Regions from separate parts of the Homo sapiens genome. Here regions 1 and 2 are each linked to region 3. Evidence: promoter capture Hi-C in 16 types of primary human blood cells and fetal thymus (Javierre and others, 2016). All regions are on one chromosome and are shown on one strand. Each heading gives the region's core, a stretch centred on a gene start or on the middle of the fragment in contact. The rest is flanking DNA. Distances are from core to core; before and after follow the strand shown. Region 1 overlaps UBE3C (ubiquitin protein ligase E3C). Region 2 overlaps UBE3C (ubiquitin protein ligase E3C). Region 3 holds the start of NOM1 (nucleolar protein with MIF4G domain 1).

Region 1 (2,981 bases), core at 10-2,509, 240 kb after region 3:
AATGCTCTTTAGCTCTGAGAGATTTATAGCTTCATATCTTATACTTTAATAATTTGGGATAAAATGATTACACAGATGACTTCAAAGCAGAAAAATACAGATTTGTTTTTCATTGTATGTGTAGAATTAAATATATATACCGTCCATGTGTTTGTAAACAAGTTTTTATAATATTTTGGAAAAAATATTGAGGATGTGCCTGGAGAGAGAAGTAAATTTTGTCTATAATTTCATAGCTGCTTTTATTATCAGTGATATTTTCATTATAATCAATAGAATTAATAAGCTATTGATTCATGTTAAAAATTGCATTCTCTTTCATGAAGTTCAAATAACATTGATGAGCTTTTAAACATTTCAGCACATAGTGATCTTAAAATTAAATGTATTTTGAAATCCTATCTAGATTATAAACTAATTTCCACTAGCTGTTGTTAGACACATCAAATAAATAAAATAGACTTGCCTTCGTCAGCTTCAGCAATATCATTCATAGTTCTGAATCTTCTAAGAATTCTTAGAACATTTGTGAATGATAATTGTTTCCCGGGAAATATGAGTACACTTGGAAGAAGCATATTCCACCAAAGTGATTCTAAATCCCTACCACGTTTTTAAAGTTTTCTTTTAAGCTTGTTAAGAAATAGTAAGAGAAGGGGCTTCCTTTTCGATCCGCCATCTGCGGTGGAGCCGCCACCAAAATGCAGATTTCCATAAAAACCCTTACGGGGAAGACCATCACCCTCAAGGTTGAACCCTTGGATATGATAGAAAATGTAAAGGCCAAGATCCAGGATAAGGAAGGAATTCCTCCTGATCAGCAAAGACTGATCTTTGCTGGCAAGCAACTGGAAGATGGATGTACTGTCTGACTACAACATTCAAAAGGAGCTTACTCTTCATCTTGTGTTGAGACTTCGTGGTGGTGCTAAGAAAAGGAAGGAGTCTTACCCCACTCCCAAGAAGAATAAGCGCAAGAGAAAGAAGGGGAAGCTGGCTGTCCTGAAGTATTAGAAGGTGGATGAGAATGACAAAATGAGCTGCCTTCGTCGAGAGTGCCCTTCTGATGAATGTGGTGCTGGAGTGTTTATGGCAAGTCACTTTGACAGACATTATTGTGGCAAATGTTGTCTGACTACTGCTTCAACAAACCAGAAGACAAGTAACTGCGTATGAGTTAATAAAAGACATGAACTTAAAAAAAAAAAAAAGAAGGGATTATCAAAGAAGACATTTGAGGTAGTGAATGCCACTTTCCCCCATTTTAATTTAAACTGTAGCATGAGGGAAAGTATGTTTTTTGAATCTGTAAATCTTTTAATTAAAGAAAATCAGTTGCCAGTAAGAAGGGCTGGCTGTTTAAATTGGTTCTGGTGTCAATGCTGGAATGCTAGCGCGCCTGAGTGTCTAAGGCTTACCTCCTACTCTTAGCTCCTAGTTTGTGAAGAGCAATTTTTAGCAGCTTGTCTCCAGACGAAATACACCTTAAAATTTTTATTAGTAAGGACATTGGAATTTATTTTGAATCTTGCATTATCTGATGCAAATTATTATATATCTGTTTTATTGCTTTTTATGGCATTAGAAGTGTCCAGTAATATTTTTTTAAAAAGAAAAATTTCAGAAGAACAAATTATTGCCTTTGTACTTGTGTGCTATAAGAGTTCGACAGATCATTGGGTGTCTCGCTGTTTCTTTTACCTGTGGCACCTGGACTTAGAGGGGAATTCTCAGAGGATGCCATGCTGTGGTGGCCTTGACTCCTTGTGTGGGAGCCAGTGTCTTCCATTGTGTTCTCTTTCATAACTCAAGAGAGTCCCCGTGGAAAACTGGCCTGAATTTATGACCCGGCTTACTGATTAACTCATAGGATTGTTACAGCTAAATAAAGCTTAATGAGTAATTTTTAATCTATCCCACTATGTGGGAGAAGAATATCACTTCTTTACATTTTAGAAGTAGAGCCCCAGACTAAATAACCTTCAGAAATTTGTCTTTTTTTTTTTTTTTTGGTGAAAACATTCTTTATTAGTAAGCAGACATTTGAAACTTTTTGATTACATGCATCATGCAAAATGACTGACCTCACACATGGTTGTCTGTTCATTGTGACATCTTTTTTGAGATGATTACAAATTTAAGATGACTGCAGTAGTAAAAATAATTCATGAAAATGACTCTCAATGAAGCAAAACACTACATAGCACACATGAAATACTGTTCATCCCTCCTGGATGTTTAATTCTCTCCTAACGTAAATCTCTATTTTGGAAGACTATTATTTACAAAAATGGCAGTTGTTTTTGTATGTGCATCTATAGGCACTGAACTGATATGAACAAAATTTCAAATAATTTTACAAGGTTTGGTTGTTTTTTCCTGTTTTGTTAATCCAAAACAGGACAATGCCCTTTGATTTACAATGTTCAGTTCTTTTAAGAAATCATTTTCTTTGGAAGATGATTTTGACCCATGAAAAAGTTGTTTTACCCCTGGTAATCTTTTTGAAATGGGGCTGGCTGTTATACATTATACAGGTTGTTTTCAGTTAAGTGAAAAGGAGTTGGGCTTGTCTTGAGAAGAATTCCTCTAAATTATGGCACTGAGAAAACTTCTCTGCAGTGGTGGGCTCACCACTTCCATCCTGTGGTAGTTCTGGTAGCACTCCTGGTATGAAAACCCTAGCACAGGTAATTTCACCTCTTTGAAATAAGCAGTGATCCTGGAGAAAGGTGAATATTCCAAATCTAGTAGCATATTCAGGTCATCTGGCAGAGAAGTAGGCATAAAAGACTTTTCTAGGTACTTAGAATGCTGCTGTAACAAATATCTAAAAATGGAAAAGTGGCTCTGGAATTAGGCAGTAGGTCGAGGCTGGAAGAATTCTGAGGCGCATGCCAGAAAGAAGCCAAATTGCCTTAAACAGACTGTTAGTAGAAATGTGGAATGTTAATGCTAGGGAGGCCTTGAAGGAAGAAAGG
Region 2 (2,772 bases), core at 56-2,555, 200 kb after region 3:
TGTAATTGCAGCTACTCAGGAGGCTGAGGCAGGAGAATTGCTTGAACCCGAGAGGCAGAGATTGCAGTTAGCTGAGATCACGCCATTGCACTCCAGCCTAGGTGACGAGAGTGATACTCTTTTAAAAAAGAAAAAAGGAAGAAATCCTCATTGCATATTCATCCATCCCTCCCATCCCTGTAACACCTGGCAACCACTGATCTTTTTACTGTTTCTACTCTAGCCTTTTCCAGAATGTCATATAGTTGGAATCATATACTATGTAATCTTTTCAGATTGGTTTCTTTCACTTAGTACTATGCATTTAAGGCTCTTTTCATGGCTTGACAGTTCATTTCTTTTTACTTTATTTTTTATCAATTAATAAGCTTTTTTTTTAGAGTGGTTTACGGTTTACAGAATAATTGATGGGAAACTATAATAGAGTCCTCAAAACCTCCTCTCCGCTGCACGCTGTTTCCTTTGTTATTTACATCTTGTATCTGTGTGGTACATTTGTGACATTGGAGAACTATTGAATTTTAATGAAGTCCAGCTCACCAGTGTTTTTTTCATGGATCTTGCTTCTCGCGTTGTGTCTAAAAAGTCATTACCAAAGCCAAGGTAACCTAGATTTTCTCGTATTTTCTAGTAGTTTTATAATTTTGTATTTTACATTTAGGTCTCTGATCCATTTTGAGTTAATTTATGTGAAGGATATAAAATCTGTGTCTAGATTTTTAATTTTTGAAGTTTTTTTGTTTGTGGATGTCCAGTTAGCACCATTTCTGAAAAGACATTCCCCAACTCCATTGAATGCCTGCCTTTGCTCCTTTGTCAAAGATCAGTTGGCTATATTTTTATGGATCTATTTCTTTTTTTTTTTTGAGACGAAGTCTCGCTCTGTCTCCCAGGCTGGAGTGCAGTGGCGCAATCTCGGCTCACTGCAACCTCTGTCAAGCAGTTCTCCGGCCTCAGCCTACCGAGTAGCTAGGATTACAGGTGTGCACCACCACACCTGGCTACTCTAGTACAGACGGGGGTTTCACCATGTTGGTCAGGCTGGTCTCGAACTCCTGACCTCGTGATCTGCCCGCCTGGGCGTCCCAAAGTGCTGGGATTACAGGCATGAGCCCCTGCGTCCGGCCTTTACGATCTGTTTCTAAGCTCTGTTATGGCTTTATTCTCTCCTCCATTGATCTCTCTCCCTTTTGTCAATACCATACCATCTTGATTACTGTAACAGATCTGTAGTAAACTGTACTACTTAGTATATATATTAAACTAAACTTTTTTTTAATTTGAGAGGGAGCCTCCTGTTGCCCAGGCTGGAGTGCAGTGTTGTGACCTCGGCTCACTGCAAACTCTGCCTTCTGGGTTCAAGTGGTTCTTCTGCCTCAGCATCCTGAGTAGCTGGGTGGGCATGTGCCACCACACCTGGTTAATTTTTGTATTTTTAGTAGAAACTGGATTTCACCATGTTGGCCAGGCTGGTCTTGAACTCCTGACCTGAAGTGATCCGCCTGCCTCAGCCTCCCAAAGTGCTGGGGTTACGGGAGTGAGACACCGCGCCCAACCATAGTAAGCATTGAAGTCTGGTAGTGTGAGTCCTTCGACTTCCTTCTTCTTTAGTATTGTGTTGGCTATTGTGGATCTTTTGCCTCTCCATAAGAGTCAGTTTGTTGATATTCACAAAAAAAACCTGTGGAATTTTGATTGGGATTGTGCTGAATTGGTAGATCAAGTTGGGAAAAACTAAAATCTTGACAGTGTTGAGCCTTCCTATCCATGAATATGGAATATCTCTTAATTTGTTTAGTTCTTTTATTTCTTTCATTGGTTATATAATTTTCCTTATATATACCTTATACCTATTTTGTTAGATTTATACCTAAGCGTTTATTTTTAAGGGGTGCTAATGTGAATGGTATTGTGTTTCAGTTTCAAATTCCAGTTCATTGCTTATTTGTAGAGAAGCAATTGACTTTCATGTACTAACCTTATGTCCTGAAATCTTGCTATAATCACTTCTTAGTTCCAGGAGTGGTTTTTTGGTTGATACTTGGAATTTCCTGCACAGATAATCATTTCATTTGCAACCAAAGACAGTTTTATTTCTTCCTTCCTGATCTGTATGCCTTTTTTTTCTTTTTTCTTTTCTAAGACCATCAGAAAGCAATGTGTTTTATTGTCTTACTGCATTAGGTAGGATTATAGTTGAAAAGGAGTGGTGAGAACTTGCCTTGTTCTTAATCTTAGTGGGAAAGCTTTGAGTTTCTCATCATGAAGTATGATGTTTGGTGGGTTTTTTGGTAGATATTCTTTATCAAATTGGGGAAATTCCCCTCTATTCCTAGTTTGCAGAATTTTATCATGAATGAAGGTTGGGTTTTGTCAGATGCTTTTTCTGTATCTGTTAATGTTATGTGATTTTCCTTCTGCAGCTTGTGGATATGATGGATCACATTAAGTCATTTTAGAATATTGAGCCCGTCTTGCGTATCTGGAATAAATCCCACTTGACTGTGATGCATAATTCTTTGTATACGATGTTAGATTGAGCTTGTTGATATTTTGTTCAGGATTTTTGCATCTCTTTTGATGAGGGACATCAATTTAGGGTGTTTTTGTGATGTCTTTGTCTGGTTTGGTATTAGGGTGATACTGGCCTTATGGAATGAGGATACTCTAGGGCCTACCAAAACCAATTACTATAGTTTTTTTGTTTTATTTTGTTTTTTTGAGACAGAGTCTCCCTCTGTCGCCTAGGCTGGAGTGCCTGGAGTACAGTGG
Region 3 (2,822 bases), core at 232-2,731:
CTTGCCGGGTGTGGTGGCTCACACCTGTAATCCCAATACTTTAGGATTTGAGCTTAGGAGTTTGAGACCTGCCTGGACAACACAGGGAGACCCTGTCTCTACTTTAAATTTATATTAAATAAATTTTATATTTAAAAAAATTCGTAAAACCTATAAGGAAAATGGACAAAGGCCATAAACAGAGGAGGAAATACAAATGGCCAGTGAACAAAGACACCCACTCTCATCAGGAACTAAATGACAAGATGCCATTTTGAGCTGACAAGTTGACAAAAATTAAATCATTTTAAAGTCAAGGACGGGCCGGGCGCGGTGGCTTGCCTGTAATCCCAGCACTTTGGTCCGCCATTGCACTCCGGCCTGGGCAACAGAGTGAGACTCGGTCTCAAGAAAAAAAAAAGAAAAAAAATTAAATTAAATTAAATTAAGTCAAGGGTGGGAACTCTGTGGAAATGAAGCTTCTGAAGCTGTCCGGGAAGAGAAGCGGCCCCTGGTCAGGCCGAGAACCCCACAGCAGCAGCCCCGTCTTCCCCCAGCTCACTGCTAGGCGAGGCTGCTCCTGCGCCTCCGGGCTTCCCAAAAATCCAGACGCAAACTGCGCGGCCTCTGCGTTCGCTTCCCGGTTCAAGTTACCCAGTAAAGAGGAACCTCAAACGCTCTGCCCTCGGGGCCCAGCGTCCAAACCCAGCCTGGGCAGGGCCGGCTCCTCAGGGGTCCTCGGCCGCCTGGGGGCCACAGGCGTCTCCCTGGTCCGTATCCAGAGCCTGCTTCTCAGGAGAACGCTGGCTCTGGGGCCAGTCCTAACCCACGAGGGCTCCTCTCGACCACATCTGCAAAGGCCCTATTTCCAAATAAGGTCGCATTCCTGGGTCCTGGGCGGACACGAACCTGGGGCCCGCGCATCCCAGCGTCGTCGCCGCCGCCAACCTCCGGCACCGCGCCGACCCGCGCGGAGTCTCCCCTCCATCATACGCGAGGATTTCCCTTTGGAGTCTCGCTCTGTCGCCCAGGCTGGAGTGCAATGGCGCCATTTCGGCTCACTGCAACCTCCGCCTCCGTGGTTCAAGCGATTCTCCTGCCTCAGCCTCCGAGTAGCTGGGATTACAGGCGCGTGCCCCCACGCTCAGCTAATTTTTGTAGGGGGGTGGGTGGGTTTCACCAGGTTGGCCAGGCTGGTCTCGAACTCCTGACTTCAGGTGATCCACCCGTCTCGGCCTCCCAAAGTGCTGGGATTACAGGCGTGAGCCACCGCGCCCGGCCGGATTTCCCTTTTAAATGTGAAGGCACCTCCATGCTCATCGCGAGCCTGACGTCCACGCGGCGCCCACCCGCGGGCGCGCCTGCCCCGGGCGCCACCTGCCCGGCTGCCCCCGCACCCGGCTCCGCGCAGCTCTGCACGCTGTCGCCCTCCGGCCAGCAGGGGGCGCCGCCCGCCCGCCCCGCGCAGCCGCCTCTTCCCCGGAAGTCCCGCCTCGGCCGGAAGTCGTGCGTCCACGCGTTTCGAAAGATGGCGGCGTCCAGGAGCGCGGGAGAGGCCGGCCCGGGCGGCTCCCAGGGACGCGTGGTCCGCATGAAGCGCAGAGGCGGGCGCGGGCCGCGCCGCGGTCCTGCTGGCGGTGGGGAGAAGGCCCTGAAGAGGCTGAAGCTAGCGGTGGAGGAGTTCGTGCACGCGACTTCGGAAGGCGAGGCTCCCGGGGGTTGCGAGGGGCGCGGCGCCCCGGTGAGCTTTCGCCCGGGAGGGAGAAAAAGCCGTAAGGAACTGAGGAAGGAGAAGCGGCACCTGCGGAAAGCACGCCGGCTGCAGAGGACGGCGGGCCCCGAACAGGGTCCCGGCCTGGGAGGCCGAAGCGGAGCCGAAGAAGCCAGCGGTCACCGGCAGGACACGGAGGAGCGCGCCCGCCCAGCCCCTAGTCGGGACCCCTCGCCTCCCAGGAAGCCGCGGCCGTCCCGGGTCAAGGCCAAGGCCACGGCCGCCACCGCAAAGACCAGACCCTCCGCAGCCGCCACCGCCGCTGCCCGGAAACGGGCGCTTTTAGCGGCGAACGAGGAGGAGGACCGAGAGATCCGAAAGCTGGAGCGTTGCCTCGGTTTGAACAAGCGCAAAAAGAAGGACGGCAGCAGCTCCGTGCCGCTGAGCTTTGCACGCGACGGTCTTGACTATATTCTGGGAGCCCTGGAGTCTGGGAAAAATAGCGGCTTGTACGACAGCAGTGGTGAGGAGGAGGAAGATGCCGGACAGACACTCCCCGAAAGTGACTTAGAGAGTGACTCCCAGGACGAAAGTGAGGAGGAGGAGGAGGGAGACGTAGAAAAGGAAAAGAAGGCGCAGGAAGCAGAAGCGCAGAGCGAGGACGACGACGAGGATACAGAAGAGGAACAGGGGGAAGAAAAGGAAAAGGGAGCGCAGGAGAAAAGGAGGGGGAAGAGAGTCCGTTTTGCAGAAGATGAAGAAAAGAGTGAAAATTCCTCGGAGGACGGTGACATAACGGATAAGGTATCGTGTGAACACTCTCTAGGCCCTCTGGGATTTCCTTCAAAATAACGGGACAGGGAATGGGGCGTGAGGCAGAAATGACACAGACTTGGTGTCTTGATAATGGTTTCAGCTGAATGTGAGTAAATCGAGTACGTTACTCTATTCGGTCTTCTTTCATGTTTTTAAATTTTCATAATGTAAAGTTTAGGAGAAAAGCAATATAGAGACATTTTTATCCCGGGGACTTAAGGGCCATTTCCACAGTGCAGCATCTTCATTCTGTGTTTACCAGCCCAGGTCTCTAAACCTGTTAACCCTACCTCATCTGTTAAGGCCTCTTTCGAGT

What was found. Contacts are between HindIII fragments. The CHiCAGO score rates a contact against its expected background, and 5 or more counts as called.
Region 1: a fragment that was not itself captured here is called in contact with the fragment with the promoter of NOM1 in region 3 in 1 of 17 cell types (megakaryocytes); the score reaches 5.9 in megakaryocytes.
Region 2: a fragment that was not itself captured here is called in contact with the fragment with the promoter of NOM1 in region 3 in 1 of 17 cell types (erythroblasts); the score reaches 5.1 in erythroblasts.

The regions. Positions count from the first base shown.
Region 1 is chr7:157,191,667-157,194,647 of GRCh38, forward strand. All of the region lies in intron 10 of UBE3C (ubiquitin protein ligase E3C), which reads left to right. It also overlaps the pseudogene RPS27AP12 and the pseudogene LOC777650. Among named protein-coding and RNA genes, the nearest start is that of UBE3C, 54 kb to the left of the region's middle. The HindIII fragment of the contact is 1,259 bases long and covers 631-1,889 here.
Region 2 is chr7:157,145,394-157,148,165 of GRCh38, forward strand. The region is part of intron 1 of UBE3C (ubiquitin protein ligase E3C); the gene reads left to right. Among named protein-coding and RNA genes, the nearest start is that of UBE3C, 7.9 kb to the left of the region's middle. The HindIII fragment of the contact is 1,878 bases long and covers 367-2,244 here.
Region 3 is chr7:156,948,231-156,951,052 of GRCh38, forward strand. NOM1 (nucleolar protein with MIF4G domain 1) reads left to right here and starts at 1,482. Exons shown (of 11, transcript NM_138400.2): 1 at 1,482-2,494. The coding sequence starts at 1,508. RefSeq lists an enhancer at 634-1,162 and silencers at 1,223-1,572, 1,853-1,902. The HindIII fragment of the contact is 6,978 bases long and covers 457-2,822 here.